Regions from separate parts of the Homo sapiens genome. Here regions 2 and 3 are each linked to region 1. The links are contacts of gene promoters, found by promoter capture Hi-C in blood cells and fetal thymus (Javierre and others, 2016). All regions are on one chromosome and are shown on one strand. The core of a region is centred on a gene start or on the middle of the fragment in contact, and the rest is flanking DNA. Distances in the headings are between cores, read along the strand shown. Region 1 holds the start of CPO (carboxypeptidase O). Region 2 has its middle 71 kb from the start of CREB1. Region 3 has its middle 50 kb from the start of CREB1.

Region 1 (4,594 bases), core at 135-2,634:
GAGATCCTGGACTCTGTAAGTATCTGAAATTGAACTGAAGATAAGGAACAAGCTGAGGTCACACAATTATTGTGGGACAAAAATTGGAGTGGGTTTCTATGTTATGTGAGAGCAAGTTCATTGCAAGATTTCTTTAACCATGAAGCAAAAGAGGAAATACCAATTATAACCACATATACTTCATGAGATATGCTAAATGAGCAAAATAATGATTTGCATATGAACAAGGGAAAAACACACTTTATATGGAAACTATACACACACACATACACACACACAGATTTCAATAGAATGTATTTAGAGAACTTATGATTCATTAAGAGTAGGGAGAGACCACAAAAATGGGCAAATGACATTAATGGGCAATTTATAAAATGATAAAATTAGTAATAAAATATTTACTCTTATAAATCAACAAAATACAAAGGAAGTCAACAATGTGTATTTTTTACTTGTCAATTTGCCAAACACTTAAAAAGTGCTTTCATACACTGTTATTGGAAGTGTAGACTGATGTAATCTTTCTAGAGGGTAATTGGGCAATGTGTAGCAAGATCCTTACATTTTCCTCAGTTACTGACCCAGTAATTCCACTTCTTAGAGAAATAATTAAAGATTTGCAAAAAGCAAAAAAAATTATGTAGCTGGTTGCTCATCACAGCATTATTTGTAAAAATGAAAAAGCAGGAATTGACTAAATGACAGAATATTATTAGCAATTTCAACTGTTTTAAATAAATTGCTAATGCCATAGGAAAATTTCTGTAATACAATTTAAGTGAAATATTTCAGAAATAGTGCTGCATACATAATCAGGTAGCTATCTGAAAACATTAATAGTACTTATCTCTAGGTGAAATTATTTGGTCATTTTAACATTTTTCTTAATAATTAGGATAATGTGATTTACCAAATGAGATACTATGAAAATGAAGGATATAGAATTTGTATTACAATTTTCTTTTTCCAATCACAAAACATGACATGTCTATTTGTATATCTCATGCATTGTGTTAGGAAATGTTTGCTAGATATTTATTCATTTATTCAAGGATTATTAGAGGATTATGATTATTCAGTGATAAATTTCAGTGGTCTTTATTATTCTCATCTCATGGTGGTATATATGAGTAGCAAGGAAGGAGAAGCCAGCTGCATTGGTCTTAAAAAGAAACCATTCAATTTAGACAATCTAAATTATAATAATCAGTTCCTCTTCCCACTTTACACTCACCTATCATATCCCAGCCCTCCAGGAACCAGCATCCCCAAAAGATAAAGGGTTTCAAGCAGAGGCTTCATTCTGCCACACAGTAAGTTAGAAAATTCTGGGCCTCTCTGGCAGTGGATCAAGTGTCCTTGAGAATGAATGCATCAAGACTGTGGCTCCCACAATCAAGATGAGATAAATCAGTTAGTGGATGTCTCAGCAGAAAGTCACGGGCAATTGCTTTATTAACTCTCTCATGTCCTCAAACACCTTTTCCAGTGTGGGAAATGCTGTACCATTTGATATTTCATTTCTTCTCTAAAACCAAATTTACGTGAGCTCTCAACTTCACCAGATCCTGAAATAAATTTCCTCCCTATGTAAAGTCACCTTGGAGTATTTCTAGGAACCCCCATCACTCGTGCTCAGGAGCAATCATTCCTGCTCTTCCCCTCACACAGGTTGAATGGGAATAGTAGGCTAGTCTTTGTGAATCATGAGCCTGTTCATGAGACCAGAAAGAACACTCTGCTCTGGTCAAAATGGACATGGTCATTATTCAGAATCTCCACTTCCTCCTTCAATCTAAGGCTTTGATTGGGGTCAAATGCCTTCTCTTTTTCTGATGAACCACATCACCAGCTTCTTAAACAAACCCAGATCTCTTCAAATCTGAGCAGTGAAGACAGTTTCAATCCTTTCCCATGTGGATTTTACCCCACGCCCCTCTTACATGAAGGACTCTGTCAGATACTCCGCCATGTTTTCAGACATAGCCAAGTTATGCTTGAATCTCATTGACCAGTAAAATTAAAGACTCATGTTAAGACCATTGCTAATAGTCTAACTGAGCAAGGCAAACTTTAGCGCAGAGCAGGTAGAGTATTTAAATGGAGTCCTTGGCATTTAGGGACCCAGTTTAAATCTTCTGCCCTGTATTCATGTATTCATTCTACAAAAATCTCATGAGTACCACTGTATACCAGACACTATGCTAGATACTTAAGATACAAGGGTGAACAAGGCAGAGTCCCTTCTTTTATGGAACTCACAGTAGAGTTGAGAGAAAAATAAACGAGTATACAAACAAATGTTACAGTTTCAAGTAAAGAGAATGCAGTTAAAAAACTAGAGGAGATAAGCGCTTCCATGCTGTCTCCAGGCATGCCATCCACCCAGTCCCTCCATGTGTTTAGCAACCCAGAGGCTCTCCAAACTCTGTTCCCTTGTGTTTTTATGAAGACTTCATTACATAGGTATGATTGATCATATCATTGGTCATTGGTGATTAAATAAATCTCCAGTCCCTCTTTCCTCCCCAGAGATGGGAGGGGATTACTGAATAACATGGCTGATTCTCCTGGCAACCAGCCGCTATCCTTAGAAACTTTCCAAAAGTTACCTGTTCACTTAAACTTAGACATAGTCAAAAGGGACGTCATGAATAACAAAAATGGCCCTTTCACCTTTATTGATCTTATCACTGAGGAAATTCCAAGGGTTTTAGGAGCTCTGTGTCAGGAACCAGGGACAAAGACAAAATATGTATTTCCTATTGTATCACAATATCACGATGGTGTTTAAAGCCACTGGGCTAGAGGAGTTCATCTAGGGTGTGGGTATAGACAGAGAAAGACAAAGACTGAGACCTGGGCTGACCTAACATTTAGAGGACTTGGTAGAAGAGAAGAATCCAGCGAGGGAATTGTGAAGAACAGCCAGTGAGGTAGTTAAAAAATGGGTGACTATTGTGTCCCAGAAGCCAAATGAGGAAAGCATTAAAAACAAAAAAAATGGGAGTTACCCACTGGTCAAACGAGGACGAAGAACTAACCAATCATAACCAGCAGGATAGAGGCTCCTGGAGACCTTGAAAAGAGCAATTTCAGTAGATAACGTGGTGGGGACAAACGCCTGCCTGGAGCTGGTTAAAGAAGGAAAGGGAAGTGAGAAAGTGGAGGCGGTGAGTATAGAAAACTCAGCATAGCTTGCCTACGATAATGGCACCTTAAAGAAAACTGCATTGTTAGCATTTTGCATCCTTCCCTTGGGATTTAGTTAATTCAAAAATCCTGAATTTGAATTTTGCTGTTCAGAATGAGGGGTAAAATGCAACACTCATGCCACTCTCTTCCTCACCCAAGTGAGGGGACTGGCAGGAACCTTGGTAGTACTAATTTTGGAGCAAGGGTTCTAATGGTGCTGTCAGTTCCACAGAAAGAGAGGGGGACCTGGAAGTTAAGGGTGTCATCTTTCCATACTCTTGCTAATTGGAATGGGCTGAGATGGATTCATGGCAAAGGGACGTATGGGTAGTCTAAATAAAAAGAAAGACTGCAAAAGGCTTCCCCTGCTACCAATATGTAGTTCCATACAGTTATTCTGAAACAAAAGAATATAAATAAAAGTTTAAAAACACATAAAAATGTAGTCAAATAATACACACAAATTGTTAGTAAAAACCTGCAAATAATTTTTTAAATGTGTTGTGAGGACATTTGATATTACTACACAGGATTTTCTTAACTGTCACTGATAATTGGATTTTCCTCAATCCCCACGTCCAATTTCACTGTAATATGTGGTCTCCTGCCAACCCCCCTGGCCAAAGATTATCTTTCTGTAACCTTATGGAATGCAAGCAGTAACCCAGGGAACTCAGGGCCAATGAAGTGGAACCATGGGCTCCTCACTAACAAGGGTGAATTATTATCACATCTTTCCTGGTGATTAGATTATTTCTTATCGTTGTGTTTTATAGCTTTCTAGTTAGTCATCTCCACACAATTTATTCACAATAATAGTGTTTTATTATTGCTGTTTTATAGTTCCTATAACAGTAAAATTTGTTCTCAACTCTATTATTACAATATTCAACTACTAATGGATATTCTTATTTTTATTTGATTGTGTTTTAAAGCCATAACAATAAAATTTACTCCCAAAAATATTACTGCAAGTTTTATGCTCTTTAAACTACTTGATAGAATGCCTGCAAACACATGTGGTCCTTTAAGCCACATGAGAGAAAGCCTGCCAACACATAAACATTGTTCTAGGGGAAAAAGGGGGGGGAATTGGTTTCAATTATGGTGAAACTTGCGTTCTTTGATGGAGTAAGTAATGGGATGAAAGAAATGAAAGGACCTTAGAGATAGCTGATTTCAAAGAGAATTATATTCTAATTGGTAGAATTATTTGTTTAAAAAATCAACCTCTTTTTATTACCTGCCAAGCCCTACACATTTCCACCGACTTCATCCTCCAAAATAATGTGCTCTCAAAAGGCCCAAGATTTCTCTGGGCTCAAAATTGCATGGCTTGTTGCCACATTAGTTGGATAGAGGCTGCTATGAAATATTATTACCAAAAGCCAGGGTCATG
Region 2 (4,713 bases), core at 299-2,798, 520 kb before region 1:
AAATGCAAATGTTTTTAGTTTCCGAGGAGCTCAATATACTAGGGCCCACAATTCCAGAAAGGCCACAGAACTGGCCACGTTCTTACCATTATTATTTTGGGGGAGGGGCAGAAACTTTCTTTTTTGTTTTCTTTGGGAATGCATTTCTGATTTATAACAGAAATGAGTGGGAAAACCGGATTCATTTGACTAAAAAATAGAAGTGATTCCCAACTTGGCCAGATCATATTTGAAGTATTTTATAACATGCAAATACTTTATATATTATTCACAAATACATGCAATTGTAAATATTCCATCTAATTAATGTACAATAGGCACTTTTCATATGAAGAGTTTAAAGACATGGCTGCTAGAGACGAGTATGAACATATTTTGAGAGAATTTGTAAAACAGTTTAAAATCTAATCTGTCTTCACCTTGCTTGTCTCAAGTTTGAATTTTGTTTTTATTCTCGTTTGATTTGTGGTTTGTTGATATATTGAACGCTCTTGCTATTATCAGCATTTCATTGCTTCTTTATAAATGGATTAAAATGGAAATTTCTCCCAATTTCCAGTCTTTTGTGTTTTTTTTGGTTTGATTGTTTTTTGTTTATTTTTTAAATCAATTCAAATTCATGACTGGGATAATTGTAAAGTTTTTCTTAACTTCTAGGGTAATTTAACAAGAAACTTTAAGAATAAAAATATGTATTAATGGCAATTAATCTGTCAGTTTTGAGATCTGCTTAACTGCTTTTGATTCCTCAAGCTTGTAGGGGTGAAATGTATAATGAATGCCCTTCCTTACCCCTCATAAGAGTCATGGCCTGCACTCCTACAACAAGAGGCAGGTTAAAGCGTAACAAATTTATTTAAAGTTTTACATTACATAGGAGCCTCAGAAATGAAGACCAAAGACCCAGGAAAAATGATCTATTTGTATGCTTATGTTTGATGAAGAATGGACAGCCATATAGAAATGTGTTGGACAAAAAGGGTACGATTGAATGATAGTAGACTGCAGGGGAAAACCCAGCAAGGCCTGTCTGTTCAGAGTCTTCTTGGCCTCTCTGTGTAGCATTCTTTCCTCCTGGGTGTGGGACAGGACCCCTCTGGAATGAGGGTCTTCAAGGAAGAAGGGCAAAGGGAGAGAATGACCTTTCTAGGTTTTTTGGCTTGCTTTGGGGGATAGGGGTTCTAGTTTCTATGGCCCGCCTTGGGGAAGAGAAATTTTGGTTTCTATGCCTCACTTCAGGGGAGAAAGAGAGGTGAGAGACAGGAGGGCGGGGAAAAGGTCATAGAGATCATGCTTCCGAGGCTTTCTGATATTTTCTAGATCAAAGTACTCAGCTTGCCAAAGTGCCATACTTTGAGATTTCATTTTCTGAGCCCCGATAGTCCCCTGTCTGAAACTTCCTCAAGAAGTTTCACATCCAGAAATTGGTTTGGTGGATTCTCATTAGCTATTGAACCAGACCTCTCAGTCCTAAGCTCAGTCGAGTTAAACAGTTAGCAGTTGTCTCACTTCAGGCAGAGGTGTTGCAAATGGGCTTCCACTAAAGTTAGGCACTAATGCAGTGCAAACAATCAGATATGTAACAAGAGGCATTTCTATGGAAACAATAATAACAACAAAAATAAGTGTAATGGTTAGAACAAACTATAAACTCAGTTTTTAATTCTAGAGGGCAGCCAGTCAAGATTTCTAGATGCTGGACTTAAAGCCTTTCCAGCTGGAGCAGGGGCAGGCAGTGATGATCTGACAGATTTTCCTTGTTTACAAAAGTTTGCTTCAGGTGTTCCAGTGAGCTTTCTGAGTAGTCCATATAGCAGCAGGCCCGAAGGTTATCTCTACATAGCTGTTGTAGTGATTTCTCTGAAGTCTGTATCAAGCCATCTAATTTCACCTTGCAGGGCTTCAGAAAAAGGGGTGCTTTAATTTTTAGTGATTCCAAGCCAGAAGACTGGGATAAAAATTGGAAATATTCGTTTGGTGAGTCATAGCCAGATATTGGAAGAAACTAGAGAAATTCAGGATCCAGCACAGATTTCAGGTGGATAACAAACTCTCAAAAACAATGAGCTAGCATCTAATACTGGGTGCACTATACTTTTCTTCTGAAACAAAATTTTTCTCTCTATAGTCACCTTCATCTCTATCAAAGATAATCAAAGTAAAACTAATTTGTTTGCAAAATAAATTTAGTTTCATTAAACTTGACCTGATTATTTATACAAGTTCAGCAAGAGTAGTGATTGGCCACATAGGCTGTCTTTAAATTTGCTTTGCTGGAACGTTTTATAAGGAATCTCAGATTAGACATTGAAAAGCCTCTTGAGGCCAGGAGGCCAAGCTTAAGATTCACCATTAAAATTCACCTGAAGTGGCTGGGCATGGTGGCTCATGCCTGTAATCTCAGCACTTTGGGAGGCTGAGGCGGGCGGATCACAAGGTCAGGAGTTTGAGACCAGCCTGGCCAACATGGTGAAACCCCGTCTCTACTAAAAATACAAAAATTAGCTGGGCGTGGTGGCGGGCGCCTGTAATCCCAGCTACTCGGGAGGCTGAGGCAGGAGAATTGCTTGAACCTGGGAGGCGGAGCTTGCAGTGAGCCGAGACTGTGCCATTGCACTCCAGCCTGGGGGAGAAGAGCGAGACTTCGTCTCAAAAAAAAAAAAGAAAAAAAAAATTCACCTGAAGTACTTCTAGATTTTGCTGAATTCCTCTCTGCTTTAGGTCCCCAAAATATCCTGAGGTTCCTGGTCCTGCCAGGAGGTGACATTCTTTACCTACCTCTAAGGCAACCATATGAACGATGCTTTCAAAGTACCAGGCCAGTTTATCCAAGCGCGGGCTTTATTGGCTCCATAAAGTCAACCTTAGTTCTTTAAAGTTGTCTGTCATATTTGAAAATAGAATATTCCAGTCAAAGCCTTGGTAAGGTAACATAACCAGTATTTCCAATTGTGCCCTGTTACAAGGAGAACAGATTTTTATTAAACTAGTATAAATAATTATATTGCCATAAAAATAAGAATACTCACAAATAGTTTCTGAGTCCTAGCAGGATCAGGTAGGAAGAAAAAGTAATTGTTCCAATTCTGTTCACAAAAGTATATGCTACCAGATCTCTGCAAGCTCTAGAAAGCTTAAGAGAAATAGTTTCTTTAAATCTGTAAAAGGAAACATTTACAATAAGAACCAAATTTCAAATTTAAAAATTTCAAATTAAAAGTCATGAAAACATTACCTTCATCAGTTCAGTTTCACGTAATTAATTCTTGATCTGCTTGATCTTGCTTGGCAGTTTCATGAAGCCATTCATTTCTTCATTAGAGTTCTGAAAATTCTCACACAGTCCAATGGTATGATCTTATGGTTATTAGAAACCTGTATTCAAGGGTATTTGTCAAAGTCTTTTCTATGAATCTTTTCGAAGAAAAGCAGTTTTGGACTATCGCTGATTGCCAATACTTTTAGACAAAAATCAAAACAGTAATGGCCTGTAGATGACAAAGACTTAATATGGCCATGGTTAAAAATCTGATGAGAGTTCATTATAGTCAGCAGTTGACAAGGAAATTTAGTTATTTCTGTGGATACAACATTTTAACATAATTGCCAGAATTGTTACTGATAACATTAGACTTTTAAAAATCTCACATTTTCATATCAATAATACGCTCCTAAGTATAACTCTAGGTTTAGCATTACTCATTATTTGACCACACTTACTATATAATTTAATGCATCAAATATATGTAAGCCCAATTATTTTAATATCTTTCTTTTACAAGGTGAGAAAAACACATATTTTGTAGCTTTCAAGAGGCCTAACTGGTAAATCTCAAAGTAAGTTCAAGGTCAAAAAGACTTAATTTAGAATTTGATTTTGGGAAGTATGTCAAAATGTCAAAAGGTTTAAAAAAATTAAATATGATATTGGCTATCTAATTAAAGTGACAGTTTTAAATAGAAAAACAATTTTCTATTTTTTTTAACATTTTTTTAGAGACAGGGTCTCACTCTGTCACCCAGGCTGGAGTGTAGTGGCACAAGCATAGCTCACTGCAGCCTCAAACTCCTGGCTTAAAGCAATCCTCTCACCTTGGCCTTCTGAGTAGCTGGGACTGCAGGCATGCGCCACTGCACCTGGCTCATTTATTTTTATTTTTATTTTTGTAGAGATGGAGTTTTGCAGTATTTCCCAGGCTGGTCTTGAACTCCTGGGCTAAAGCAGTCCTCCTGCCTTGTCCTCCCAAAGCACTGGGATTACAGGTGAGCCACTGCACCTGGCCGACAACAAAAGATTTTAAAGGCAAATACAAAAGGTTGCATAGTTGTGAATAAAATGTAATCAAAGACCTAATAAAATACAGCATGAAGCCCAAAAATGATCTTGATAAAACACAAAATCTTTGTTTTCTAGGTCAGTTACTGAAAAGGAGAAAAAAAAAACCTTCACATTCTCAGACCAATACTTCTAGAAAACTTTGTTACTTTAACAGAGAAGACCAAATTCCACTTTTGCATTAGCGTACTATTAATACTAAAGCTAATTTTAAATAAAATCTTTTAATAAATTCATCCAATCTTAGTTTTGATCACAAAAGATAACATTTCCATAAATCATTTAAAACTTAAAAAAAATTCAGCCTTTTTAAAAAACAAAAATGTGTCATTTACATAACTTTCCTTATCAAATGCATCTTATTTCTAAGCAAAGAA
Region 3 (4,555 bases), core at 1,046-3,545, 540 kb before region 1:
TTCAACTCTAAGAATAAACTACATAATGTTTCAAATCTAATATTATCTAGAAGATCCCAGATGTCATGATACAGTTTAGTTTTGGAACAAGAAATAGTAATTAAAATCAACTAGAAAGTCTAGTGGGAGATCATTCAAAAACTTCATATGCGAGAAACTTTTAAGAGGCAAATAATATGAACAGTGATTTCATCAAAAAGGTGTAAAAAATAAACAGATGGGGACCTTGAAGAAAAAAATGTTATAAAATATCTACTGTTTTTCTTCCAAATAATTTCCAAAAATAATCAAACCTGTAAGAGTTATATAATGTGTAATTAGTAATTATTGTATCTCCTTGAGTTTCTTTCCCCTTTAAAAATATCTCTGCCTGTGGCTGTATATACAGAATTAGAAGAATTTTACTGGCTTCTCAAAACCAGTAAGGGGCGAGGGAGGACAGACCAGATAAGCAGTCATCAGCAATTGCGGTTAGGTTCAGCTGCATGGAAGAGAAACCTGGCTTCCTAGGCTTATACGAGGAAGGTGGATATTTTCCTCATGTGACATGAACCCAGAGCAGGGCAGTCCAGGGCAGGTGCTGGTATCTATGAAGGTCACTTAGGACCTGGGCTCCTTCCTGCTTCTCCACAGTCATCCTGGCTGGAAACTCAGCCATGTGTTTATGCCAGGCAAGAAGAAGTAGAGAGGCAGAGACCTGCAGAGCTGGTGCCTTTTTCAAAAGCTTTCCTGGCAGCTCCACCCTGTGATTTTTTGCTTACATTTAATCAGCCAGCACTAATTCCATGGCCTCCTCTAACCATCAGGGAATAATCCAGGTCAGGGCAGGGTTTTTAAACCGAGTACCTTGCCACCCCAAATGGATTTGAGTTCTCTTGATAAGAAAAAAAGGGAGAATACTTTTATTTTTGATTTTGAAGGTATTTATGTTATCCTGTTTGCCATCAAAAGGAAGTCAGAATTAATCTAGTTCTGTTACGATCTTTCATTTCCTGCTGTATATTATAGTACGTGGTAGACATTCAACAAATGTGGTTGATTGATGAATGGATTCATTTAACCAGTAATTATCAATCATACTACATGTCAGTGTTCTATGATATTTAAAAAGAAATATATATTCCTATCCTTGAGGGATTTATAGTTGCAATTTCAGACATTCATATATATGAAATGATTAGAGAACAATCCAACTGATAAAAAGAGCACAATTCTTCATCTGTGTTTTGCTTTCTATTGTTCGTGCTATTATTGTACTGCTACACTGGATTTGGTTCCAGGACTATTTTCATCAAATTATTTGGTTAAATATGCCCAGTGGTGCAGAAAAACAATGGAGGCATTAGATACTTGGGTTTTCATAGCATCAGGGTTGTGGATGGTCATACAGCTTTTGTGCTTCTCATTTTCTCTCTATAAAACATGCCATAGCAATGGCCATCCAGCATAGGCATTGGATAGACAAGGGGAGATGAAGACAATTAGGAGCATGCCTGGGCTCTGAAGTCAGGCTTCCTGGATTCCTCTTCCAGGTCTGCCATTTACTAGTGTAACCAAGGGTGTGTGTCCTACTTTCCCCATCCAACAAGTGGGGCAATAACTGTACAAACTACAGGGGCTGATGTGAAGCTTGTGCTAACATATGAAAAGTATTTAGAAAGAGCTTGGCATGTAGTAAACACTCAATAAAAGTTAGCTACTATTATGTAGTGTTTTCCAATGGTTTATTTAGAAGCAAAATAGTATCAGTCTAGAAGTCCAGGCTTGTTTTTCTCCCAAACATGTTTTCACAAGTGCTTCCATGGTCTCCTTCTCCTTTTCTTCTTCCTCTTCCTCTAAAAACATATTTTGCTGTGTCTGCTTGGTCATCTTTCACTGGGCCAGAGAAAGAATCCCTGAGGGTTGGACAAGGGGAGCAGCTGAGTTGGTGAGAAAAGGAGCCCAGCAGGTTGAATGCCTCGAACCACTGTGATGAGCTCTTGAGCTGGGTGCCAATCAAAGTGAAGCAGTGGGGCTTGCCAGGTGAGATGTTAATTTCAGCGGTCACACGTGTCCCTGTCTGGACTCTCCCTAGGACTCTTGACCCTACCCTGCAGTGGTTTGAAATGGATTTTATTAGGCTTTCATTACATTCTCATATCATTTTTTTCACTTGGTATCTAAGCTACACGAGAGCCAGTATAGTGCTTTGTCCTTGGCTAATACTCTACCCAGACCTCTCCTGAGTGTCCAGCTCTCTCTCTCTGCTGCACCAAATCTAGAGTGAGGTCAGGGGCTTAGAAACTCAACTCAACTTGTTAATCAATGAAGCGGTGAGGCTATTTTGTCCCTTTCTTAAACTTCTTTCTAAAGCAGAATTATAAATAGGATACTCTGTGACCTATGGGTCAAAAAGGGAACAATCGGGCAAATGATTTTTGATTGTAATATCTATTATGACCATAATATATTAATAATGAATGTCAAGGATTTGGCTCGAAGACAATAAAAGCAAAGGTGCCACATATGTGCTCTCTTTCTCCCTTTCTACAGTACTGATTTCATAACTTATCTTTAGGTAGAGTGGAAATTAGATTTTAAAAAGTGAGTAAAAGTTTTCACCCGAAAAAGTAATTTGTTAATTTTTATCTTGAATAACTCCTTGACTGATGAAACTCCATTTTGTCTTATACTGTTTGCAAACAAAAAAGAAACAATAATCCACACTAATAAGCACATCTGAGAATGCCTTTAAAACCCCTTTATTTGCCTAATTGGAGAAATTTTCTGGAATGATTGTCAATGGAAAACAGTTACAGCATTTGTGTCTAAATATATCTTCTTGCTTTTGTTCTACTTCCACCTGAGTGTTTTTAAAATTCTTATGTAGAGTTGATCTTCCTTTGTTAAGGATACTAGTTTTCAGAGTAAGGTTTTTTTTTTAAGAAAATCATTTAAAACATTTATACTACCCTAAGCTTCCACAGTTCTTGTTGAGAGTATTTTTCTCTTTGAATTTCAAGGGAGTGATGTCTTGTTGGCATGTTTGATGTTGTGGATGTGGGTTTCACTTTATTCGAGCAAAGCATTTAGAAAGCTCCAAGAATTTCTCTCATCTTCCTGGGTTGAGGGAAATGTAAACAGTGACAAACAGTTCTTCAAACTCTCCCTGATTTTTTTTCTTGTGGTGTTACTTTCCACAGAGTTCAAACACATGGGCTTTTAAGAAGAGATAATAATCTCATTTGACAGTAAGCAATAGTTATTATGACGCAGATTAGTCAGTATTTTGTGAAATATCAAATAATCAAGTAGTTTGGATCTGCTAGACCCCTCCCATTTCAATCATTATGCATGAAGTTGATGACCTTCATCCTTGTGACCCCACAAAGATCTTTATGACACTTATGTGTGAACTTAGAGCATTTTTCTACTCAACCGCAGCGCTGCTAACTCTGTTTGGGACGGAGGAGCTGCCTGTGCATTATAGGCTATTTAACAGCATCCATGGCCTCTCCCTATTAGATGCTAGTAGGACCCCTTCCTCTAGTGTGACAATAAACGGTGTATTCTGACATGGCCAAATGTCCCCGGGGAGCAATATTGCCTCCCATTGCCGTGGGGACCTCAGCCATCAACCTATGATGGGTAAAGGAAAAGATATTTTTCTTCTCCTACAGTTAAAAACATAAAAATTAGAAAATCCCCGGGAAATATTTTTATATCACCAGCAAATATCCTGACTAGTCAAAATGAGGCTTGCCATCAAAAGGAAGTCAGGATTCATCTATTTCTATTATGACCTTTCATTTCCTGCTGCATATTATAGTACATAGTAGACATTCAACAAATGCCTTTGCCTCCCATTGAGAACCACTGTCTTACAGCAATCTTCAGTCCAGGAGTATAGTGACAGTTTTTCACTACAATGAACAAAATTACTAGAGGATGTTAGGAGTTAGAAACCCCAGATTGCTGATGGGGCAACATAGGCACAGAAGTTTACACATGCCCAGTCTGTCGTAAGAGAGGGAGGCCGAGTCCCACTTCCCATAGTGCTTGGATCAGTCTGCCTGATAGTGCTTGCTTGATAATTACCGGTTAAATGAATCCATCCATCAGTCAACCACATTTGTTGAATGTCTACTATGTACTATAATATGCAGCAGGAAATGAAAGGTCATAATAGAAATAGATGAATCCTGACTTCCTTTTGATGGCAAGCCTCACTTTGACTAGTCAGGATATTTGCTGGTGATATAAAAATATTTCCCAGGGATTTTCTAATTTTTATGTTTTTAACTGTAGAAGAAAAATATCTTTTCCTTTACCCATCGTAGGTTGATGGCTGAGGTCCCCACAGCAAAAGACAGATTAACAAAAGGATACAAATGTGTTTAATATAAATTTTATGTGACATGAGGGCCCTCATAAAGAAATGAAGACCCCCAAGAAATGGGTAAATGTGAGTATTTTCATGCTAGGTTTGATGAACAGTGAAGAGTCATGGAGAAATACGATAGGGTGAAAAGGGTGTGATCTAATGGTAAGGCACTGGGGGAAATTTAGCAAGACC

The links. The method cuts DNA at HindIII sites, captures the fragments that hold promoters and counts their contacts. A CHiCAGO score of 5 or more calls a contact.
Region 2: a contact is called between a fragment that was not itself captured here and the fragment with the promoter of CPO in region 1, in 2 of 17 cell types (fetal thymus and erythroblasts). The highest score is 6.0, in fetal thymus.
Region 3: a fragment that was not itself captured here is called in contact with the fragment with the promoter of CPO in region 1 in 7 of 17 cell types (M1 macrophages, erythroblasts, naive CD4 T cells and 4 more); the score reaches 6.8 in M1 macrophages.

Annotation. Positions count from the first base shown.
Region 1 is chr2:206,936,308-206,940,901 of GRCh38, reverse strand. CPO (carboxypeptidase O) reads right to left here and starts at 1,384. Exons shown (of 9, transcript NM_173077.3): 1 at 1,235-1,384. The coding sequence starts at 1,302. The HindIII fragment of the contact is 5,939 bases long and covers 1-4,594 here.
Region 2 is chr2:207,456,868-207,461,580 of GRCh38, reverse strand. No RefSeq gene overlaps it. Among named protein-coding and RNA genes, the nearest start is that of CREB1, 71 kb to the left of the region's middle. RefSeq lists an enhancer at 1,043-1,092. The HindIII fragment of the contact is 1,585 bases long and covers 756-2,340 here.
Region 3 is chr2:207,478,143-207,482,697 of GRCh38, reverse strand. No RefSeq gene overlaps it. Among named protein-coding and RNA genes, the nearest start is that of CREB1, 50 kb to the left of the region's middle. The HindIII fragment of the contact is 1,328 bases long and covers 1,632-2,959 here.